Linked DNA regions of Homo sapiens: all the other regions are linked to region 1. Evidence: promoter capture Hi-C in 16 types of primary human blood cells and fetal thymus (Javierre and others, 2016). All regions are on one chromosome and are shown on one strand. Each heading gives the region's core, a stretch centred on a gene start or on the middle of the fragment in contact. The rest is flanking DNA. Distances are from core to core; before and after follow the strand shown. Region 1 holds the start of PRSS16 (serine protease 16). Region 2 has its middle 13 kb from the start of TRQ-CTG6-1. Region 3 holds the start of OR2B6 (olfactory receptor family 2 subfamily B member 6).

What was found. Contacts are between HindIII fragments. The CHiCAGO score rates a contact against its expected background, and 5 or more counts as called.
Region 2: a contact is called between a fragment that was not itself captured here and the fragment with the promoter of PRSS16 in region 1, in 1 of 17 cell types (erythroblasts). The highest score is 5.4, in erythroblasts.
Region 3: a contact is called between the fragment with the promoter of OR2B6 here and the fragment with the promoter of PRSS16 in region 1, in 8 of 17 cell types (monocytes, total CD8 T cells, M2 macrophages and 5 more). The highest score is 7.7, in monocytes.

What each region holds. Positions count from the first base shown.
Region 1 is chr6:27,246,407-27,249,106 of GRCh38, reverse strand. PRSS16 (serine protease 16) reads right to left here and starts at 1,406. Exons shown (of 12, transcript NM_005865.4): 1 at 1,300-1,406; 2 at 1,059-1,225; 3 at 161-260; 4 at 1-7. The coding sequence starts at 1,369. The HindIII fragment of the contact is 3,507 bases long and covers 1-2,700 here.
Region 2 is chr6:27,776,909-27,779,608 of GRCh38, reverse strand. No RefSeq gene overlaps it. Among named protein-coding and RNA genes, the nearest start is that of TRQ-CTG6-1, 13 kb to the left of the region's middle. RefSeq lists a silencer at 1,667-1,726. The HindIII fragment of the contact is 2,981 bases long and covers 1-2,700 here.
Region 3 is chr6:27,955,976-27,958,675 of GRCh38, reverse strand. It overlaps OR2B6 (olfactory receptor family 2 subfamily B member 6), which reads right to left and starts at 1,435. Exons shown (of 1, transcript NM_012367.1): 1 at 494-1,435. The coding sequence starts at 1,435. The coding sequence ends at 494. The HindIII fragment of the contact is 2,455 bases long and covers 477-2,700 here.

The DNA of each region.
Region 1 (2,700 bases), core at 157-2,656:
GGATGGCCTGTGAAGAGTGTATGGGTGGGGGGTGGGGAGGTGAGATGCAAGTTGAGTTTAAGCCCTTTCACTCCTCAGGTCTCACAGCATTGCAATATGCAGCTCCCCTTCCTGGTCCCCACCAGCATCCCAACTCCTTTCCCCCAACATTGCCTCTTACCTCTCATCACTGAGCCAGGCCCAAGGCTGCCCTCACCCCCTAGATGCAGGAATATGGGTCCATCCTGGCCAACCCAATGTTGGTCATTCACCCAGTAACGCTGAGAGGTGGGATGGGGAAGAAGAAATGGCACTGTGAGAGTCCTGACTTATTCTCAATTCCTCATTTGTTCCAGTCTCTCTTCCTAATGGATCTTTCCTTATGTACTTAACAGTGTCTGAAATGAGCTTGTTTATTTACTTGCTCACTTTTCCCCTGTTCATCTCCTCATCTAGAATGCAAAATATACAAAAGCAAATTTTTGACCTGGTTTTTCACTCTTATATCCCCAGAACTGAGGGAGTGGCTCTCACATTGAAGGAACTTGCTATTTCTTGAAGTAATAATTGTAAAATAAGAAATAAATGCAGATGGATTTAGGAATAAGATCCAAGTGGGATGATATTTGGAGACTAAATACAGAGGAAGCACTGAAAAATGGCGAATTTGTTCCTTCTTTCGATAGATATCTTTGAGTGCCTGTTGTGAGCTAGGTCTGATTCCAAAGCTGGTTCAAATTTCTGCTACCTACTGAGACCTGGTGGTAGGTTTTGTGTCCAGTCTGGACAGGGACAAGGGGGTAGGGAGGAGCAGTGAATGTGAATGACAGAGAGAAAGAAATGGTGAAGGGCAAGATCTGAGGGACAAAACGAGTGGGACCCCGAGGAGAGGAGAGAGTAAGGCCAAATCTACAAAGGGCAGGAAAAGGGATACTGACAGCAAGCATAACATGAGATTCAAGCAGAGGGATGGGGAGAACTGAGGTGTGGAGAGAGAAAAAAGTGCAGACTGAGGAAGAGATGAGGGAGACTGAGGAGAGGGCAGGATGGTTAGTGGACTCCCCGTCTCCCGGCCTCACCTGTAGGAAGGATCGTCTGTCGGACACGTTGAAGGGGTCCAGCAGTTGCTCCAGCCACCCCACTTTTGGGAGGGCTGCAGCACCTGGCCCCAGGCTCAGGCCCAGGCCCTGGGCAGAGCTCTCCTGAAACTGCTGAATGTGCTCACCCAGGCGCCTAAGAAGGGAGGCTGTGGGACATGGAGGGAAGGAAGTCAGGCTGGCCCCCTTAGGATGCCCTGCTTGACCCTCAGCCTCCTCTTACCTGGAGCCAAGAGTCCCCAGAGGGAAACCAAGAGCAGAGGGCCCAGCCACTGGGCAAGCCAGACGGCCATGGTGTTCGGGACTCTGTTCTCCCCCAGGAGGACCTTTATCTTATCCTCAGCAGCCGGGCCTTAAATCCATCACCTTTCAGCAGAGGCTCAGGTTTCTTTCCTTTCCTGGCAGGTCAAGCGTCTGTAGGAACTGCTAAAGCGGGGCAGGGACGCCAGAGTCTGTACACAGAGGCTGCTGATGCAGCATCGGAACTCCCAGTTTCTTCTCTCTGGGCCTCTCAGTCTGTTCTTCCCTCAGCTCTCAGTAGCCCTCGCTGTCTCAGTCTCCTCCTCTCCGCTCTTCGGTCTACCTTCTCTTTATCTCAGATTCCTCCTTTGCATGCCTTATTGTCCTTCAACCTCTGTCTCTCCCCACCTCAGCACCTCCTCTGGAACCCCAGTTGCCCACTTATTCTCAGTCTTTTCTTTCTGCCCCTCAGCATATCTTCAGTACCCCTCAGTTGTTCCCACACTCAGTCTTTCCGTCTCTTTTTTCTCAGTCCCCCATCTCTTTTTCAGTCTTTCTCTCCATACTCATCTCTTTGTCCCCCAATCTCACCTTGTCTATTTTCCAGCCCCCTCACTTTCTGCTCTGCTTCACTGTCCCGAGCTTCTCTGACCCACAATCTCACACTGTCCATAGACTCCTTACAGTTCTTTGAACATACCAGGCTTGCTTCTGCCTTAGGGTTCTTATTCTTGTTGTTCCCACCCTATGGATTGTGATTTCCCTATATACCCACGTGGTTTGCTCCCTCACTTCAACTGGATCTTTATTCAAAGGTCATTCATTCAGAAAGGTCTTCCATGGTCAGCTTTTTAAAAATTGCCAAACCTATGGCCCTCTTCTATTCCTTTTCAAACTTTATTCCTAATTCTTTTTCATGGGACTTATCACTATGAGAAATATTGTACATTTAAAAAGTTATTCCCATAAATTTAAAAAATATATCCAGAATCTGATGACTTCTCACTACCTTCAGTGCTACCACTGCTGAGCCACCATCATCTCTGACTTGGGATATCATGGAAGGCTTTTAGCTGGTCACCCTGTTTCTGCCTCATGATTTATTCTACACTCAGCAGACAGAGAGACAGAATTAAATATTAGCCCAATCATTCACAATCATTCACTCCCTGGTTTAGAACACTTCCCTGATGCCCCATCTTACTCAAAGTAAATCTAAAGTTTTGAAAACAGTTTTTAAAACTCTGTATGACCTGGCCCCCTGTTGTATATACTGTCATGATTTCATCTCCTACCCCTCCTGGGTTCACTGCTCCAACTGCATTGGACTATTTCATATTTCACAAGACTCACTCCTTCCTTAGAATTTTTGCTCTCCTTAGGA
Region 2 (2,700 bases), core at 165-2,664, 530 kb before region 1:
GAAATTATTTTCTTGATATTTAATTAAGTTTTTGTTTTACTTGGGTTAGTAGCTTTATACAAGAAAATTTGGTTGTTTCTGCAGTTTACAATAACTTAACATAACTATAATTAATAGCTTATACTATTTTAGAAATCCCATACAATTTTGAAATATATATTAGTATTATTCACAAAAATATAGCCTAAAGAAGATTGAGCATCATTTTGGCAATCCCATGTACCTAAACGTGTCAAATAATCCTGTTTACCTGTCTTTTCTGGACACTTCAGGGGCCCGCTGAAGTATTCAAAAAGCCAGGTGCCAGGGAAGAGATTTTTGAAACCGATGTTTGATTTTGGGAATTCCAGATTGCTATAAGTTATTTATTTTGCCAAAACGATGACTCAGAAATTTTAAAGAAGCAAAGACCTTTTATAACCCTTTTGTATTTAGTCAACATGTTCACACAGAGAACCTCTTCCGTTAAAAAAAAAAAAAGTAAAACATTCACATGCTTTCAAAAGTTAAAGGTATAACAAAAGGTAAACTCAGAGAAGTGGCGTCCCATGTCCCTTACACTCCATTTCCCCCAAGTCTCTTACCACCATTTTAGGTAGCCAGATTCACTGTTTTCTGGTTTATCTTCACTATGTTTTCTTTTCAGAAAGAAAAACAGGTATGTGTATGTTTTCTTAATTCCCCTTCCTTCTTGAAAAAAGGTAGCCTACTATAATATTCATCTGCACTTTCTTTACTTAACACTATCTCCTAGAAATTATATCTTTTTTGTAGCCCCATAGCGCTTCCTCTTTGAGTCCATGTTACAGTTTATTCAACCAATCTCTTATGCCTGGACATTTAAAGTTAGTTAAAATGCTTCTAGAAGGTAAGCAGACAAAATAAAGATTATTGGTCTTCTGAGTTTGCCCATGGAATTCTGATTCACAAAATGCTTTAAATGTACCCCTATGTTTTCTACCATTTACATTTTTTAAAAAAATCTATCCAAGTAGAATCAACCATTTTACACTTAACTTCATTGTTGCTTCTCTTTCTCATAACATTCCATGTGTCTAGTTTCTGTAAGTATGGAAGGAGGAGGGTATAAATGATGTCTTTTGGCCATCGTAACAGATAGCTTTAGAGAAGAATTCACAGTACACGAAATGAATTTAATAAATCATGCATAGAGATGAACAAAAGAGCAAAAGAAGCAGGAGGCTCCCGTAGAAGCAAAAAGACAATAACGATTTACAATAACCAATGGTCTCAGGCAAAAGTCAGTAACAGTGTTTTGCCTTCGAGTGCAAGAAAATATAAAATTATATTCAACCTCAGTGTATTTTCTATTCACTGGAAGATAGGTAATTTGTTGGAAGTAAACATGAGAATTGTCACCTCCTCTTCCCAAGTAAGATATGCCTTTCCAAATAAGATATGAGTAAGAAAGGAGTTACGCAAACATTTGGAGAAAGGAGAAGGAACATGCTGAAGACATATCTAAAAGTGAGATACAGCCTCTGAAAGGACTTTTAAGAGAGAGAGAGCGAGAGAGAGAGAGAGATATAATATATATAATATATATTTAGAGGCCATCTTCTCCCCACAACTGTGGAAGGTAATTCCTCAAGAAGGGGGGGGGGAAAAAAAAAAAAAAAAGCACCCTTCTTTAGCAGAGGATGGTTTAGATCCATCGACCTCTGGGTTATGGGCCCAGCACGCTTCCGCTGCGCCACTCTGCTAACGGAAAACACGCTTCTACTCTTCTTATTTATCATGCAGGTGATCAGCCATTTTGTTGTTGTTGTTGTTGTTGTTGTTACACTGTTTTGCCTCTTTCTGTTTTTCTTTCACTGTTTCTTTCCCGGTTTTTCTTTTTTCCTCTTGGCCTCTTAAGATCAGCTCACTCTAGAACCAGTTGATTCCAACAATCCCCTTCAAGTTGCGAGTTGCCCTTTCCAAATCTACCAAACATGCTTCAAAACCTGACATTTCTTTCTTTAAGAGCTGCTTTGGGCTCAGGAGCAGAAACAGGAGAAAAGTCAAGCAAAGCCCTCAGAAGCCCTTAGAGAGAATCGAGGAAGGCATTAAGTCAGACTACTCTCCTTAGAGAGAAAGTATATTAGCCAGTTCGCTTGTTTCCTGTCCCCAATAAAATTTCTTTCCCAACACTAGAAGTATTTTTGCGTATTGACCTAGAAGTATTTTTGCATATTGACCTAACGCCTTTTGCAGCTTTCCGGGCGCCTGGTGTACCCACGCAGCCCCACCTTATCCCCACCCCTATCCCTGCCGTTGAATTCATAAAAAGGGGCTTCCTACCCTAACCCTTTGGTGTTATGTCTGCGGACAGCTTTCACTTTCAGCGAATGTGGGCTTTCCCAGCCAAGGGCCCAAACAGAGACCTTTGATACTCCTTCATCCTGTGCTATGTCAAGAAAGTCCCTTCTGAAACTTTTATTTTGCTCTTTTCACCAACTTGCTTTTCCCGTTTTCTCAGAGTTTCTCTGTCTTCAGGAAAGCCTTGTGTTTCCAGTTCCAGGTCAGGCATAGGATTGGTGGCCATTACTCTCCACCAATTTCATTTACGTTTTCTTTCTTTTTTTTTTTTTTTCCTTTTCTAAAAAGACAGGGTGAGACACTGAGGCAGATATACTGGGGTTAGGAAGATATCCCAGAATAAGAGCATGAGAAAGCAGGCTGGAATGGTTCATGTGG
Region 3 (2,700 bases), core at 186-2,685, 710 kb before region 1:
CTGGTTACAATTTTAGAATAAAAATTATTATAGATTTCCTTATGCTGATGCGGGAGTGGAAAATTTAAAATTAGAATTGTTAACCTCAGATCCAAATTTGAAGTGGTGGGGTTTGAGAGTTTCAGTGAGCCTCGTTTAACTAGTGTGTGTGTGTGTGTGTGTGTGTGTGTGTGTGTGTGATATTGGAGAAAGAACTTCTGGCTTTTCTACGGATCTAATTTACATTGAATTGTACAAGCATTGATGGGATGTTTGACAAACCTTGAAGATGTTGTGATTACAATTTTTGGTGAATTGGAAGGTCAATTCTGGGGGCTTGTTCAATGAAAACATTAAGGCAACAGAAGTAAATATAGCTCTTCATCAAGGAAATTTTATTTGAGGGAGTTTACATTGTTCTCTACAGTAACAACAAAAATAGGGCAACTTACAGAGAAGTTAGTAAGCTAAGTAAACATTTTGTCTTTAGCAAAGCTTATCATTTGCATATTTCTTATTTCTTGATTAAGAAGACTCTTGCAACCAACCTTTTAAAGCCTTCCTTTACCTCCTTGTTCCTAAGTGTATATATAAGGGGATTCAGCATGGGTGCAATGATTCCATAGAAGAGAGAAACCATCTTTCCTTGGTCCTTGGAGCTGGGCGAAGGTGGTTGCAGGTACACAGAGACGGCTGTACTATAAAAAAGAGACACCACAATTAGATGGGAACCACATGTCCCAAATGCTTTTTGTCGACCTTCAGCAGACTGTATCCTCAATACTGCTCGGACAATAAAAGCATATGATATAAGGATGAGTGTCAGGGGTATTAGATGGAAGAGCTCACTGACAAGGAATAGTTCAGCCTCATTTGCTGTTGTCTCAACACAAGATAACTTGAGCAGTGCAGGGACTTCACAGAGAAAGTGATCTATCACATAGGGGTCACAGAGTGGCAGCTGGAGAGTCAGGGTAGACAACCACACTGAGTTACTAAAACCAGTAACCCAGGATGCAGCTGCCAACTGGAGGCAGAGTCTCTGGTGCATGATAACTGAGTAATGGAGAGGCCGACAAATAGCTACAAACCTATCAAAGGACATGACGGCCAGGAGAAGATATTCAGTAGCCCCCAAGGCCAGAAATATGAAAAGCTGGGCTACACAGCCACGATAACTGATTACTTTCCTGATGCTGCATAAATTTACTAGCATTTGTGGGACTGTACATGTGGTGTAACAAAGATCCAGGAGTGATAGATTGGTAAGAAAAAAATACATGGGGGTATGAAGTTTGGTGTCCAGGCGTGACACTAGAATAATGGTCAGATTGCCAAAGATGGTCACAGTGTAAGAAATCAAGAAGACCACAAGGAGTGGAAACTCCAGCCAAGGTCGATCTGAGAAACCCAGCAGAATAAACTCCTGTATGATGCTGTCATTTACCCAATTCATGATTAATGTTTCAACTCTTGGTTTCCTGAAACAGAAAAATTCAGGAAGTCAATTAACACATATTTGTTAACTATTTCAGTTACTTATAGTCATTTTACTACCTGTTTGAAGATATTTACAGAATTGATATTGCTTGTTTTATTACATGAAAAATATACAGTTGAAAATGCTCATAATTACCAAAGTATTTCTAAAATTTAATCTTTCTATATCTGTATCATCACTGCAAAAGTGAAAGCTAAAATGTAAAAAGTAGATTCCTGATTTTAAACAACTTTCACAAAATTTCTTCTTTGATTTTTTGTCATTTGGTTAATTTTTGTAATACTGTCCACATAGATAGCTATTATTAGATTCGGTCATAATCTCTAACACATTTTTTTCACTCTAATTTCTCAATGTTAAGGAAACTGCCTTGTCATCTGAAACAAACAATTTGTTAGTTTCTTAAATTTTTTTTTATTTCAATAGGTTTTTGGGGAACAGGAGGTGTTTGGTTACATGAATAAGTTCTCTAGTGGTGATTTCTGAGATTTTGGTGCACCCACCACCTGAGCAGTGAACACTGTACCCAATGTGTAGTCTTTTATCCTTCAGCTCCCTCCTTCCCTTTCCCCCCAGTCCCCAAAGTCCATTGTGTCATTCCTCATAGCTTAGTTCCCACTTATGAATGGGAACATACGATGTGAAACAATTAAAATTATTTAGACCGCCTCAAAAACTATGCATATAGGCTGTAGCAAGCTATTAGACACATCTCAGGGAAACATCTTTTGCCTTCTAAGACCTTATCAAATTAGAATAAAAAGATATTAGTAGCATGGAATTTGGAGGCAGACAAGTCTGGGTCCATGTCCCTACTACATAAGTCATTAGTTACATCCTCCTGGGAATGTTTCTTACTCTTTGTGAGCTTCAAGCTCCTCACCTATAAAATGAGTATAATAATACCTTCCTGGGATAGTGGTACAAAGTGTAGACAAAAGGAACTGTAGTCATCTTCTGATGCTCAGAGAAAAATTATGTATGATTTTCAGAACTTTAAATGTCCTGGGGTTGCCAATAAAAAATGACTCTGTGAGGTAATATTTATCTTGTTCTCTCCACAACTCCAATACCATCAACTTTAACAACAGAGATAATAATAACTATCTGATGTGAAGTATAAATGTGATCTTTAATGTAAATTACCTGGTATAATGGCACACAGCAATGTGAATGAAAGTATCATATGACACAGGAACTCTGAGACATTCGGGGCAGAG